Regions from separate parts of the Homo sapiens genome. Here all the other regions are linked to region 2. Evidence: promoter capture Hi-C in human tissues and cell types (Jung and others, 2019). All regions are on one chromosome and are shown on one strand. Each heading gives the region's core, a stretch centred on a gene start or on the middle of the fragment in contact. The rest is flanking DNA. Distances are from core to core; before and after follow the strand shown.

Evidence for each region. Contacts are between HindIII fragments. The study calls those that stand out against the background at their distance.
Region 1: a fragment that was not itself captured here is called in contact with the fragment with the promoter of CCDC134 in region 2 in 1 of the 25 tissues and cell types used here (mesenchymal stem cells).
Region 3: a fragment that was not itself captured here is called in contact with the fragment with the promoter of CCDC134 in region 2 in 1 of the 25 tissues and cell types used here (dorsolateral prefrontal cortex).

Annotation. Positions count from the first base shown.
Region 1 is chr22:42,371,075-42,376,046 of GRCh38, reverse strand. LOC124905126 (a long non-coding RNA gene) reads right to left here. Exons shown (of 2, transcript XR_007068114.1): 2 at 4,221-4,585. Among named protein-coding and RNA genes, the nearest start is that of LINC01315, 4.4 kb to the right of the region's middle. The HindIII fragment of the contact is 4,774 bases long and covers 1-4,016 here.
Region 2 is chr22:41,797,550-41,802,110 of GRCh38, reverse strand. It overlaps CCDC134 (coiled-coil domain containing 134), which reads right to left and starts at 1,432. Exons shown (of 7, transcript NM_024821.5): 1 at 1,345-1,432. MEI1 (meiotic double-stranded break formation protein 1) reads right to left here. Exons shown (of 31, transcript NM_152513.4): 31 at 2,657-2,857. The coding sequence ends at 2,812. RefSeq lists silencers at 1,410-1,469, 2,060-2,149 and enhancers at 1,620-1,699, 1,770-1,849, 1,625-2,611. The HindIII fragment of the contact is 18,239 bases long and covers 1-3,366 here.
Region 3 is chr22:42,596,293-42,601,287 of GRCh38, reverse strand. It overlaps POLDIP3 (DNA polymerase delta interacting protein 3), which reads left to right. Exons shown (of 9, transcript NM_032311.5): 4 at 1,495-1,590; 5 at 4,923-4,995. Among named protein-coding and RNA genes, the nearest start is that of POLDIP3, 16 kb to the left of the region's middle. The HindIII fragment of the contact is 3,012 bases long and covers 326-3,337 here.

The DNA.
Region 1 (4,972 bases), core at 380-2,879, 570 kb before region 2:
GTCATTGTGGTGCTCAAGGCACCCCTGCCTTCTTCCTGGGTTCAAGCCTGGAGCTCAAGATTGGAGTTCAAGGTTGCAGAGAGCTTTAGAACTGCTAATGGGGGCCAGGCGCAGTGGCCCACGCCTGGCCAACATGGGTGAAACCCTATCGCAACTAAAAATACAAAAATTATCCAGACAGCCGGGCACGGTGGCTCACGCCTGTAATCCTAGCACTTTGGGAGGCCAAGGCAGGTGGATCATCGAGGTCAGGAGTTCGAGACCAGCCTGGCCAACATGGTGAAACCATATCTCTACTAAAAATATAAAAATTAGCTGGGCGTGATGGTGGGCGCCTATAATCCCAGCTACTCAGGAGGCTGAGGCAGGAGAATTGCTTGAACCCAGGAGACTGAGGTTGCAGTGAGCCGACAGGGTGCCACTGCCCTCCAGCCTGGGCGACAGAGTGAGACTCTGTCTCAAAAAAAAAAAAAAAAAAAAAGAACTGCTGGCCGGGCACGGTGGCTCACACCTGTAATCAGCACTTTGGGAGGCCAAGGTGGGCGGATCATGAGGTCAGGAGATCGAGACCATCCTGGCTAACACGGTGAAACCCCACCTCTACTAAAAATACAAAAAATTAGCCGGGCGTGGTGACGGGTCCGTGTAGTTCCAGCTACTTGGGAGGCTGAGGCAGGAGAGTGGCGTGAACCCGGGAGACAGAGCTTGCAGTGAGCCGAGATAGCGCCATTGCACTCCAGCCTGGGCGACAGAGCAAGACTCTGTCTCAAAAAAAAAAAAAAAAAAAAGAACTGCTAATGGGTATGGGGATTTTTTATGAGGTAATGGAAATGTTCTGGAATGCGACAGCAGTGATGGTTACGCAACCTCTTGAATATGCTAAAATCCATTGAATTGTACACTTTAAAAGGGTAAATTTATAATATGTGAATTGCATTTCAATAACACAAAACAAAAATAAACCAAAAAAAATTGCCCTACTTAAACACTTTCTGTTGTCCCCTGTTCATTACCCTTAGGACAGAGCACACACACACTTCCCTGGGACGTGGTTCAGCTTCTTCCTCCACCCAGCCTGCCCTGCCCGTACCCTTTCCTGCCCTTCCTCCTTTCCTCCTACAGAAGGGCCCTGCTGGGGCCTCTTTCAAGGTCCAGGCTCTGGCGCATGAAACTCCCTCTACCTGTCAGATGGTTAAATGCCTATTCAGTTTTTATCTGTGGCAATAAGTAGGCATTGATCTCATTTCACAGATGAGGAAACTGAGCCTTAAAAAGATATAACAACTCGCCCAAAGTCACCTAGCTGGCAGATGGTGCAGTTGAGATTCAGGCCCCAGCAGTGGCTTCAGAATCCATGATCTGAACCACTTTGGTTGGTGGCTTTCTGTGGTAGCCTGAAGAATCCCACCCTCGCCAAGATATCCACATCCTAATCCTGGAACCTGTGAATGTTACCTTATATGACAAAGGCGCCGCAGATGTGATTAAGGATCTGGAGATGAGGAGGTTATCCTGGATCATTACAATCACAAACGCCCTTATAAAGGGGGATGCAGAGGGAGATTACAGACCAAAGGCAGAAGGTGGTGTGATGATGGAAGCAGAGAAAGAGGTCTGAAGATGGTACGCCGCTGGTTTTGAACATGGAAGAAGAGGCCACAGCCGGGGAACAGAGCCCCAGAAGCAGGAGAGGGCAAGGAAACGGATACTCCTCAAAGCTTCTGGAGGGAACGTGGCCCTGTGAACACCCTGGTTTCTGCCTGTTGAAACTGATTCTGAATTTCCGGTCTTGAGAACTGTAAGAAAATAAATGTGTGTCGTGTTGTGGGTTTTTAAAAAATAATTTTTTTCTTTCTTTTTTCTCCCGGCTTTTCAATAGGGATAACGTGTGTTGTTTTAAGTCACCAGGTTTGTGGTGATTAGTTACAGCAGCCATAGAAAATGAAGACACTGGCCAGGCTCACGCCTGTAATCCCAGCACTTTGGGAGGCTGAGGGCAGGTGGATCACCTGAAGTCAGGAGTTTGAGACCAGCCTGGCCAACATGGCGAAACCTGTCTCTACTAAAAATAGAAAAATTAGCTGGGTGTAGTGGTGCATGCCTGTAGTCCCAGTACTCAGGAGGCTGAGGCAGGAGAATCGCTTGAACCTGGGAGATGGCGGTTGCAATGAGCCAAGATTGCGCCATTGCACTCCAGCCTGGGCGACAGAGCAAGACTCCGTCTCAAGGAAAAAAAAAGAAAAGAAAATGAAGACACTTTCCCTCCTAGAAGAGCCTATTCTGCCTCCCAGGCTGGGCCCCTCTCTGAGAGGCTCTTCTGCCCCGAGGTCAGTGGCCCACCCTGTTTTGTGCTCCTTGGGGATGCTTCCTATGACCTCTGACCCTGGAGCTTGCCTCGGTCATGACCTCCATGCTCACCCTGACCTTGGGCCTCTTCTACGGCTCCCAGCACTGACTTCACCAGGCTGGAGTCATCTTCCAGTTGTTCAGGGGCAGGCACCAGCTCTGGGGCAGTGTGGAAGAGGAAAGTGAGGCTTGGAGGGGGGCACTGAATGCTCAAGATCACTCAGCTGGCAAGAGGCAGAGCCGCTGAATGTGTGGCCATGAGATGACCAGGGCACCCAAGCCGAAGGGCTCGTGAGGAAAGAGGCCACACTGGCTGCCCACTGCCCCTAGGTTCCAATCCCGGCACCCATCTGGGCCCACATAGAATTGGACCATTCCTGGTGGGCTTGGCTTTAGGAAAACCTGATAGCAAATTCCAAACCAATAAGAGCAAATAAATGAGGGGTGATTACCGACAATAAGAGAGGATACACTGCAGGGTGCCTCCAAATCGCATCTCCTCCAGTACGTTTTAAGTGCTTTATAGGTCATTAACTACTTGACAGAGAGAGCCTGACACTTAAAGCAAAGAATTTGGTACCTCTGCCAGGGAAAATCAATCAGAAATGAAGCTAGAGCATCAGAGGCGTTAAGATTTACTGGGTAGGCCAACGGGATTCAATTGACGCAGAATTTTAAGACCCTCTCCACTGTGTAAAGTAAGGCACACTGGTATTTGAAGCCATTTATAAATCCCAAACTAGAATTTAGAAACACTTAACCTCTCCCCTGCCATTTTTGTGTGTGTGTGGATGTTAATGAAATATTTCGAAGACATGGAAAAGTACAGAGATAAGCTTAAGCATCTAAGTCCCCCATCTGACTCTGTCAAATGAAATATTGCAGCTATGTGCAGCTATGATTGAAGCACCCACTATTTTTTTTTTTTTTTTTTTTGAGATGGAGTCTCTGTCTGTCGCCTGGGCTGGAGTGCAATGGTGCAATCTTGGCTCACTGCAACCGCAGCCTCCCAGGTTCAAGCGATTCTCTTGCCTCAGCCTCTCAAGTAGCTGGGACTACAGGTGCGTGCCACCATACCCAGCTAATTTTTGTATTTTTAGTAGAGACAGGGTTTCACCATGTTGGCCAGGCTGGTCTCGAACTCCTGAGCTCAGGTGATCCACCCACATCGGCCTCCCAGAGCGCTGGGATTACAGGTGTGAGCCACTGTGCGCAGCCAACAGGTGCACCTCTAGAAAGAGGGTGCTTCGGATGGGCACAGTGGCTCATGCCTGTGGTCCCAGCACTTTGGGAGGCTGAGGAGGGAGGATCACCTGAGGTCAGGAGCTCGAGACCAGCCTGGCCAACATAGTGAAACCCTGTCTCTACTAAAAATACAAAAATGAGCTGGGTGTGGTGGTGCATGCCTGTAGTCTCAGCTACTAGGGAGGCTGAGGCAGGAGAATTGCTTGAACCCAGGAGGCGGAGGTTGCAGTGAGCGGAGATCGTGCCACTGCACTCCAGCCTGGCAGCAGAGTGAGACTCTGTCTAAAAAAAAAAAAATTGGTGGGGCATGGGGGCATGCACCTGTAGTCCCAGCTACTTGGGAGGCTGAAGCAGGAGAATCACTTGAACCTGGGAGGTGGAGGTTGCAGTGGACCAACATTGCACTACTGCACTCTAGCCTGAGAGACAGAGCGAGACTCCGTTTCAAAAAAAAAAAAAAAGTGCACCTGTTTTTTCTTCCTGGCTTTTCAAATCCTTTCTGTCTTCTGGCTCTGCCTTGTCAGGGAGACCTAAGCTGACCACCCACCCCTGCCCAAGACATCACTCCTTCCTCTGAAATCAGAGTGCAATTACTGCCTCTTTAATTAGCTTGGCAATTAATCACCAGCTGCTTATGAAACAGCTTTTATTGTCCTTGTCCATCTTGGGATGTGGGTGGGAATGAGGACCAGGCAGGAAGAGGGAGGAGGGGCAGGCAGGCAGGGCCCTGCTCTGGCACCAGGCTGGGCAGGGTCAGCTGAAAAGGCCTGATGTCCAGAGGGTCGGCTGCCTCCCAACTCTGTTTCCACAGCTGCTAGGCACCAGGATCTGTGTAGTCCCAAGAGAACAGTGGGCAGCGACAGGGACATCCACCTTGTGCAGCCCTGGGGCCTCTGCTCTCGATGTTCCCTACTAATCAAAATGTTCTTTCCTCATTGAGCCTTGTTGAACTGTGTCCCCCAGAAAGATATATTGAAGTCCTGACCGCCGATACCTGTGAATGCAACCTGATTAGGAAATAGGGTCTTTGCAAATGTAATCTTCTTAAGATGAGGTCATACCGGATTAGGATGGGGCCTAAATCTAATGACTGATGTCCCTATAAGAAGGCCATGTGAAGACAGATGCAGGGAGCACTCATTCACCACACCACCAAGCCAGCTCCTCCTCTTCATGCCTCAATCTGGCTGCCTATGGGAGACAGGCTCTCAGCATTTTTCTAGTTGATTAACCCTTCTCTGCCCAACTCCGGGAGAAGCTTCTACACCTTCCTTTGTCAGAGGAAGCCCTCTCCCCCATCCCATCTCATACATCATCTCTCAATCAAAAGGACCTACTTGGGGGGGCATCCCAAGGACCCCCTCTCCATCAGAGAACAGCA
Region 2 (4,561 bases), core at 183-2,682:
AAATGACTGATAACAAGATCACAAAAAATGCAAAAACCACAACCCTGCACAAAGGCCACTGCAAACTTACACAGAAAAATCTTTCTGTGAGGACATCTGCCCTGCAACTGCCTGTCCAACCTCAGACTAGCACCACTCTTGCTATTCATCCTTGTAGCCAAGGATAACTATCTCAAAATAATCATGTAATCCTCATTTTTCCTTTTCAAAACCTTTGTCTTCCTTTACCTCCCCAAATACGTACACAGGTTACTATGGCACACATATTGTCACTACAATGTCTATTCCCAAGTAAACATCATTTTTTTAGAGTCTCTCACTCTGCTATTTAGGTTGACAGTACCTACCACACTCTAGGCACTGTTCTAGAGGCGGGAATACAGCAATAAATAAGCAAAAATCTCTGCACTCATGGTACTTGTCTCTAGTAGGGATAAGAGTTGATCAATAAACTTGTAAAATAAGCACAGAGGGATGAGAGGGTGTCGGTCAGGTACAAGATTACATAAAGTGGTCAGGAGAGGTCTCACACTCAGATTACAACTCCCCAATGTTACCAATGTGAAATCAAGGCACAGAAAAATGAGGTGACTGCCCAAAGTCACACAGCTATTCCCAGGCTGAACCAAGTGTCTGTTTGGCTCTAAGTCCAGTGCTCTGTCTTCTGACTCTTTGTAAATGAGCACAGGCTACCTGAGATCAGAGCTGGCTACTGAACTACCAGGACACCTGCCCCAGGGGAGAGATGCTCAGTTACAGACAGTGAGGGGCTGCAGAGATCATCCGGAGAACCCCCTACCCCCAAGCAGACGAGATAAGTGAAACCTAGAGAAGGAATAGTCCAAGTTCACCCAGGACCCTCCACATTCCACCTCCTGCTCCAAACTCAAGGGAACCAGAACCAGGCTAGGGCAAAACTTTAGGGGCCAAGGAGAATACCAGACAGCTGGCAATGACTGAAGCAGGTAGTGGGAAAGAAAAGCCAGAACAGCAGCCTGCGGGACAGGTCCTGCTTTCTCTACTGTTAAACTCACTTTTTCAGCCTCTCAATCCCGATCCTGCCGTATGCGTCACCCGGAGCTCCTCCTGGCTCAGCATGAGGCTCTGAACTCCTGCAGAGGTACCAGGTAGTGGCGGGCCTTGAGCCAGCTACCGGGGTCGGGGGCCCAGGTGGTTGACCCCGAGCCTTCGGAGCTCCCGGAGGAGGGAGCGAGCCTTCTCAAGGAACAGAGGCGTCCAGGTCCACGAAACTCCCTCCCCACCACCTGCAGCCGGTTCGAGGCCCTCGGTTCTCTCATTATCCTTCCCGGGAACCTGCAGCCCGCGGCCCCTACAGCCACCTACCTGGCCAGTCGGTGCAGGAAGGGCAGGTGGCCGAGTCCTGTGCGAGCAGCTAGGCTCGAAGGTCCAACAGGCTAACAGCAAAGCAACTGAAAGCGGGAGCAAACGGCTAGCAACCGAGCGCAGACCGCCGAGCTCCGTCCCGCCCACCGCGCTGCTCCCGGCCAATGAGCGCGAGCCGCCACTGCGGGGCTCCGCTAGCCTCACTTCCGGCCCCGCTCCACCGCCCCTGCCTGCCCCTCCAGGCTCTGGCGTGCCTCCAGCGCGCTGTGGGCACCATCCTCGTCCTGTCCCTCCTGCGGGCCCTGGGTACGTGGCCCTGGATTTAGCTTGTGTTGGAGGAAGTTAAATCTGTGGGTGGGGTCTGTGCCCAATTTAAGGCGTGAATCAGCAAACTGGGGTCCCAGCTCCTGTCGGCCGGGCGACCTTCTGCGCGCCCTCCCTGAAACTGTGTCGTCGTCTGTGGCCGAGTTTTTAAACTTTAGATCGCAACGTGAGTTTAGTGGGCGGTGACTAGCACTTTTGTTCTTCTTTAAGGACCTCAGAGACTCAGTGCAGGATTCGGGCATCCCCTCCTTGCCCCTCCGGTCCACCAACTAATAAGCCAAGTGCGGCGGGGGCTTCCTCGTCCGTTCGTTAGGCCGAGTGCAGCCCCACTTTTGCGCAGGATCAGGACAGTCAGACCCGAGAAGGCAGCGTGGCGTGGCCATCTCCGGGCCCGGGGCCCCTGCCGGGCGGGAAGGGAGCTGGAGGCCCGGTCTGGGCTGAGCTCCCCAGAACAGGCGCAGGGCAGGCACTGTCGAGCGCAGACCTCATGCCGGGGACCAAGCTGGACATGCATTCCCAGGATCTACCCACGAGGGTGCATAAACACCAGTTCTGATGACGGCTGTACGGGAAGGGACAGAGGTGACCTACTTTAGCCAGACAAGGGCTGAGGCTGGGACAGTTTCGTTCTGATAGGAAAGCTGAGAATTTGACCCTCCTTGCCTGGAAAGTTTACCTCTATCCACCTCCACGTGAGGCGAGGGAGCAGGTCAAGTGCCTCTGGGAGCTGTTGAATCGCAGCAGCCCCAACCCCTAGGCCTTTCTCTGCCCTGCCAGCCCCAGGATGGCCTGACTGGTGTTCTCTGAGTACAGCTGAGGCACCCAGCTGACTCCTTGAATGCTGTTACAAGAACAAATCCTGTCCCGTCCCTCCTTCCCTGAGGAGGCCATCAGTCTCCTTGCTGAAACAATCCCTTATCCAACTGGCTGAGAAACCAGCTCCTGGTAGACAAGGTAGTACAGTGTTTTTGGAGAGCTCGCGCAGGTATGTGAGTGTATCATTTTATTTCCTTATTCTATTTCAACAATAGAGTATATGGCTCCATATGAATAGCTTCAGCTGTCATCCATTTCCCCAACAATTATGCCCTTTGTCTCCAGGTCTCATTCTCTCTCCACTTCTGGGCCTTCAAGTCCTGAGGATCAGTTTCTGATGTGGGACAGGGATACAGCCACCCCTCCCAGGCAGCTGGCAGCAAAACATGAGAGGAAAACAGCAGAGAAGTGGGGCCAACCATGGGGGCATCACACTTCCAGAGCCCAAAACAGTCAAGAATGGTCAGGCAAGAACAGAAGTGCTCCTGAGAATAGTGGGATGGATTCTGAAATTGGGTCCTGAACACCTGGGCTAGGTAGTTGCTATTCAACAGGGAACTATTGCACGGAAGGGGCAAGGAAGAGAGCCAGGGAGGCAGCCAGAGGGGTGCAGAGGAAGCAAACTACCCTCACACACACCTCTGGACTGCAGTATCTCTGGACTGCAGTGTCTCTGGGTGCAACCAGCCACCTACCAGAGGGTCTCTGACCACTGCCACAGCCCCAAGCTTGCTTTTTTTTTTTTTTTTTGAGACATAGTCTCACTCTGCCACCCAGGCTGGAGTGTGCAGTGGCACAATCTCGGCTCTCTGGTCACTGCAATCTCCACCTCCCAGGTTCAAGTGATTGTCCTGCCTCATCCTCCCAAGTAGCTTGGATTACAGGCATGCACCACCATGCCCGGCTAATTTTTGTATTTTTAGTAGAGATGGGGTTTTACCATGTAGGCCAGGCTCGTCTCAGAACTCCTGACCTCAAGTGATCCACTCACCTTGGCTGGGATTACAGTGTGAGCCACTGCGCCCGGCCCCCAAGCTTTCTTTTTTTTTGAGACGGAGTCTTGGTCTGTTGCCCAGGCTGGAGTACAGTGGCGCGATCTTGGCTCACTGCAGCCTCTGCCTCCCAGGTTCCAGTGATTCTCCTGCCTCAGCCTCCTGGGTAGCTGGGATTACAGGCTCATGCTACCACGCCCAGCTAATTTTTGTATTTTTTAGTAGAGATGGGGTTTCACCATGTTGGCCAGGCTGGTCTCAAACTCCTGAGCTCAGGTGATCTGCCCACCTTGGCCTCCCAAAGTGCTGGGATTACAGGCGTGAGCCACTGCACCCGGCCATCCAAGCTTTCTTAAGAACATGGAAGTCACACAGACACACACACATTGTGTGTGTGTGTGTGTGTGTGCACCTGGCCATCCAAGCTTTCTTAAGAACATGGCAGTCACAGAGACACACACTATGTGTGTGTGTGTGTGTGTGTGTGTGTGTGTGTGTGTGTGTGTGTGTGTGTGTGTTGGGCTGAGGATCACTTGAACCAACTGCGCTTGGACAACTGTCTCCAAAGCTCATGGGGGAAGGACTAGCTCCTTTCTGAGTTCGGTGATGTAGCTTTGGAGACAGGCAAATCTGAGGTCAAATCCTGATTGTATCACTAGCTCTGTGATTCTGGGCACGACTGAATGTCTCTGGCCTCAGTTTCGTTATTTGGAAAGGGAGTAGGAATAATAACAGACACCAATATAACATTCACACCAAGCCAGGAGCTGTTTTTGGTGCTTTACATATATTAACTCATTTAAGTCCTTGCTACAACCCTAGGAGGTAGGTACAGGTTGAGTATCCCTTATCCAAAATTCTTGGGACCAGAAGTGTTTTGTATTTCAGATTTTTTTTCGAATTTTGTAATATTTGCCTATAATAATGAGATATGTTGGGGATGGGACCCAAGTCTAAACACAAAATTCATTTGTTTTATATACACCTTGTACACATAGCCAGAAGGTAATTTTTTATTTTTTTGAGACGGAGTCTTGCTCTGTCGCCCTGGCTGGAGTGCAGTGGTGCAATCTTAGCTGACTGCA
Region 3 (4,995 bases), core at 582-3,081, 800 kb before region 2:
TCCCGCCTCTTAGCCTCCCTGAGAGCTGGGATTACAGGTGTGAGCCACCGCGCCCGGCCTAATTTTTTTAAATAAAAGTTCTATGTGCTTAATATAGAAAACTTGCCAAAAAGTCCCTCAAGTTCCTATTCTCCAAAGCCAGTCACTGTTGAAATTTTGCCATAGTTCCTTACATGTACGCTTCTTTTTTTTTGATACAGGGTTTCACTCTGTCCCCCAGGCTGGAGTGCAGTGGTGCAGTCATGGCTCACTGCAGCCTTGAGTTTCTGGGCTCAAATGATCCTCCCACCTCAGCCTCCTGAGTAGCTGGGATCACAGGTGCATACCACCACATCTGGCTAATTTTTGTAGAGATGGAGTCTTGTCATGTTGCCCAGGCTGGTCTCGAACTCCTGGGTTCAATCGATCCTCCTGCCTCTGCCTCCCAAGTAGCTGGGATTACAAGCATGAGTCACCGCGCCTGGCTAATTTTGTATTTTTAGTAGAGACGGTGTTTCTCCATGTTGGTCAGGCTGATCTCGAACTCCTGACCTCAGGTAATTCGCCCACCTTGGCCTCCCAAAGTGCTGGGATTACAGGCGTGAGCCACTGTGCCCAGCCCCAGTCTGTTTTTTACTTAACTCATAGTTGTGGTTGTGGTTATATATTCTTTTTTTTTTTTTGAGACCGAGTCTCGCTCTGTCACTCAGACTGGAGTGCAGTGGCACGATCTCGGCTCACTGCAAGCTCCGCCTCCCGGGTTCACACCATTCTCCTGCCTCAGCCTCCCGAGTAGCTGGGACTACAGGCGCATGCCACCATGCCCGGCTCATTGTTTGTATTTTTCGTAGAGACGGGGTTTCACCATGTTAGCCAGGATGATCTCGATCTCCTGACCTCGTGATCCGCCCTCCTCGGCCTCCCAAAGTGCTGGGATGACAGGCTTGAGCCACTGAGCCCAGCCATGGTTATATTCTTATCCAATTTTGTATCATTCTTTTTTCACTTTGTAACTCAAGCATTTCTCTGTGACATTTCATATTTACTGTACATGTTTTAGTAACTGCAAAATCTATATAGTTGGCATTCCAGTTTTATTTAAACCATTTTCCTGTCATTTTCACTGTTAGAAATCCTTCTGCTGTGAACATCTTTGTAAATAAAGCTCTTTCTAGGGTTTGGATTTATTTCTGTAGGTCATATTAACAAGGATGGACTTTCCAAGCCAAAGGATATAAAGAAACATTTTAGGGACTCTTGGTACATACTGCCCACTGGGAAAAAGGGACTTCTGATGTATCTGGAAGTTGTAGGACTTTCACTGGGTCCTTGCTGACAGGGAGTTAGCCTGTGAAGACTTGGGCCCCAGTCTTTCCAGGCACCGTCACCCCTGTGCCCACTTCTCCTTGGTCCCTTTGTTTCTCCAGCAGCCATTTCCTTGCCATGCCTGTTCTAGATGTCTGTTGAGGGCCCAGATGCCACATTTGCTTATATTTCTTTATGTTATATTCTCAGAATTTATATGACCTGGATGAAGATGATGATGGTATAGCTTCCGTTCCTACTAAACAGATGAAGTTTGCAGCCTCAGGCGGCTTTCTCCACCACATGGTATGGCATTTCATGTTTTCTTACACTGCGTGTCTGATCAGGCAGGTGGGAGAGGTCGTGTTGAATAGAACCTGTTGTTTTTTTTGTTTTGAGACGACATCTCGCTCTTCTCCCCCAGGCTGCTGGAGTGCAATGGCGCAATCTTGGCTCACTGCAACCTCCGTCTCCTGGGTTCAAGCTATTATCCTGCCTCAGCCTCCCTAGTAGCTGGGATTACAGGCGCCTGCCGCCACGCCCAGCTAATTTTTGTATTTTTAGTAGAGATGAGGTTTCACCATGTTGGCCAGGCTGGTCTCAAACTCCTGACCTCAGGTGATCCGCACGCCTCGGCCTCCCAAGGTGCTGGGATTACAGGCGTAAGCCACTGCGCCCGGCGTGAATAGAGCCTTTCAATGCAGAAATATTTCTTTGTTTGGGCCGTAAGATTTTCAGAGCTGGAACTAGTCCATTCCCTTAGTTTTATAAACGCTGAGACACTGGGGTGCCTTCTGATTTGTTCAAGGTCCCACAGCAAGTGAAGTACAGGGCTGCAGCTCCTAGGTGCTGTGTTTGAGACACTATAGGGAAAGTGTGAGTGATCCCACAGTGGGGAGTCTGTGTTCTTTCCTTGGTGGCTGGCCATTCTGCATGCTTCGTAACCCTTTGTGGTCAGCAGCTCTGGCGCTGCTCTTGGAGTCTGGATTCCGTTGGTTAACATTAGCAGGAATACATCTCACCTGATCTGTGGGCTCTACCAGGTGCAGCCTGCATGCAGGGAAAGCTTGCTAGGCTAGAGTGTTGGTCAGACATCATGCAGAGAAGGAAAGAAAACAACATCTGGGATCATCAGGGAGGTCCATGCTGCTCAGCTCAGTGGTACAGCCAAGTGTCAGACAGGGAGGCCAGTGGGCTGCCTAGGTGGGTCCTTGTGGCAGCCACCTCTTTTGTTTTTCCTTCAGACGCTCAAAGACTCAGTTTTGGTTACTGTCCTGAGTATGTGGACCAGCCTCCTGGTTAGTAATTAAGAGAAATATGGGCCAGGTGCGGTGGCTCACGCCTGTAATCTCAACACTTTGGGAGGCAGAGGCGGGCAGATCACAAGGTCAGGAGATGGAAACCATCCTGGCTAGCACGGTGAAACCACGTCTCTACTAAAAAATACAAAAAAGTTCGGGCGTGGTGGCTCACGCCTGTAATCCCAGCACTTTCGGAGGCCGAGGTGGGTGGATCACGAAGTCAGGAGATCGAGACCATCCTGGCAAACATGGTGAAACCCCGTCTCTACTAAAAATACCAAAAAATTAGCCAGGCGTGGTGGTGTGCGCCTGTAGTCCCAGCTACTCTAGAGGCTGAGGCAGGAGAATGGCACGAACCCAGGAGGTGGAGCTTGCAGTGAGCCAAGAGGCGCCACTGCACTCCAGCCTGGGCGACAGAGCGAGACTCTGTCTCAAAAAAAAAAAAAAAAAAAATATCCGGGGTGTGGTGGCGGGCACCTGCAGTCCCAGCTACTCGGGAGGCTGAGGCAGGAGAATGGTGTGAACCTGGGAGGCAGAGCTTACAGTGAGCCGAGATTGTGCCACTGCACTCCAGCCTGGGCGACAGAGTGAGACTCTGTCTCAAAAAAAAAAGAAACATGAAGCTGGCTCGGCGTGGTGGCTCACGCCTGTAATCCCAGCACTTTGGGAGGCTGAGGTGGGCAGATTACCTGAGGTCAGGAGTTGGAGACCAGCTTGGCAACATGGTGAAATCCCGTCTCTACTAAAAATAAAAAATTAGCTGGGCATGATGGCGCGTGCCTGTAATCCCAGCTGCTCGGGAGGCTGAGGCAGGAGAATTGTTTGAACCCCGAGGTGGAGGTTGCAGTGAGCCAAGATTGCGCCACTGCACTCCAGCCTGGGTGACAGGGCGAGACTCCGTCTCAAAAAAAAAAAAAAAAAAGAGGTCGTGAAGCTGAATGATGCCAGTTTGTTTCTTTACAAAGGGACCAGGCCTTTCCAGTAATTAGACTGCTCAAGTCTGCTATCAAGGGAACTATCAGCTTGCTCAGTGAGTCTCTATCCCTATTTGATACCCTAATTGAATAAATGCCATATTTATACTCATGCGTCTTGTACCCTGTGAGATGGGTACTGTTGATTACCCTCGTTGATGGATGAGGGACAGGCATGGAGAGGTGAAATAAGCCTGTTCAACATCACCCAGCTGATGAGAAGCAGTGGATCTAGGAATGGAGCCCGAGCAGTCTCGCTCTCAGGGCCCTGTGTGGAGTCACTGTGCTGTCCCAGCTCTGGAGACGCAGAATTCCACATGAGGAATGTGGAATTCAGCATGGGGATGACGCTGCTTCACCCAGACTTGGAGGAGCGTGGTGAATTGCCCGTGCCCATGCTCTGATGTGCCTCTCTGGCCGCTGCGTTCCTCCTTTCTCCCTGCCCTGGGTCAGTGCCTGTAAACACTGCCCTAAATCAGCAGGGCCCCCGTCACTTCTGCTTTATGCACCTTTTTCCTCAGACACATTAATACAGGGGAGTTTTGTTTCCAAGGGACCACATCCAGATGGAGGGGCTGTTTTTGGTGATCTGCACTGCCAAATGCCCGAGTGTCCCTGACAGTCGGAGCTGATGAGGCCAAGGCTGTGTGTGGTTCCTCTGGATGGCCAGAAGAGGAACCAAAACACTGAATTCTGGGCCTTCTTAAGAGTGGTGATCAGCACATTGTGATAGAAGCATATCTGGGAATGAACTTGGCCTCAAGCTTTTGGCCTTTTAATTTTTTTTTTTGTAAGCAAAAGCAGCTTTATTAAGAAAACAAAGGAATAAAAGAATGGCTACTCCACAGGCAGAGCAGCTCTTTTACATTTTTTATAGAGATGAGGTCTCACTGTGTTGCCCAGGTTGGTCTTGAACTCCTGGCCTCAAGCAGTCCTCTCACCTCAGCCTCCCAAAGTGCTGGGATGGCAGATGTGATCCACTATGCCTGGCCAAGCTTTTGGCCTTCTGACCAGCCTCATATTGTAGAATTTTTAGAAAGTCTAAGTGGTGTGGGTGAGCCTGTGGCTCCTGGGTAATTTTCCAGGTCAGGGCTGTATGGAAGCTTCCTGCCAAGAGCTTCTAGCACTGTGGGGAGTGGCTTCTGTGAGTGCGCGTTCAGGCTGTGTGTTTTTCTCTCCCCCTGCCCCTTCCCTATGGGATGTCACTGGCAGCCGGCAGCCTTTTTGGCTCCAGACCTCTAATAGAATTAGAGAGCTGGGAGGCATCGAGGGTTCATGCTCTCAGCAAGTTGTCAACCTCTTGGGGCTTCTTCAGAACATTGCAGGTCTGGCTTCTCAGATTCTTTTCTGTCTCTTCGTTTAGGCTGGGCTAAGCAGTTCCAAGCTTTCCATGTCCAAGGCCCTCCCTCTCACCAAAGTGGTTCAGAATGATGCAT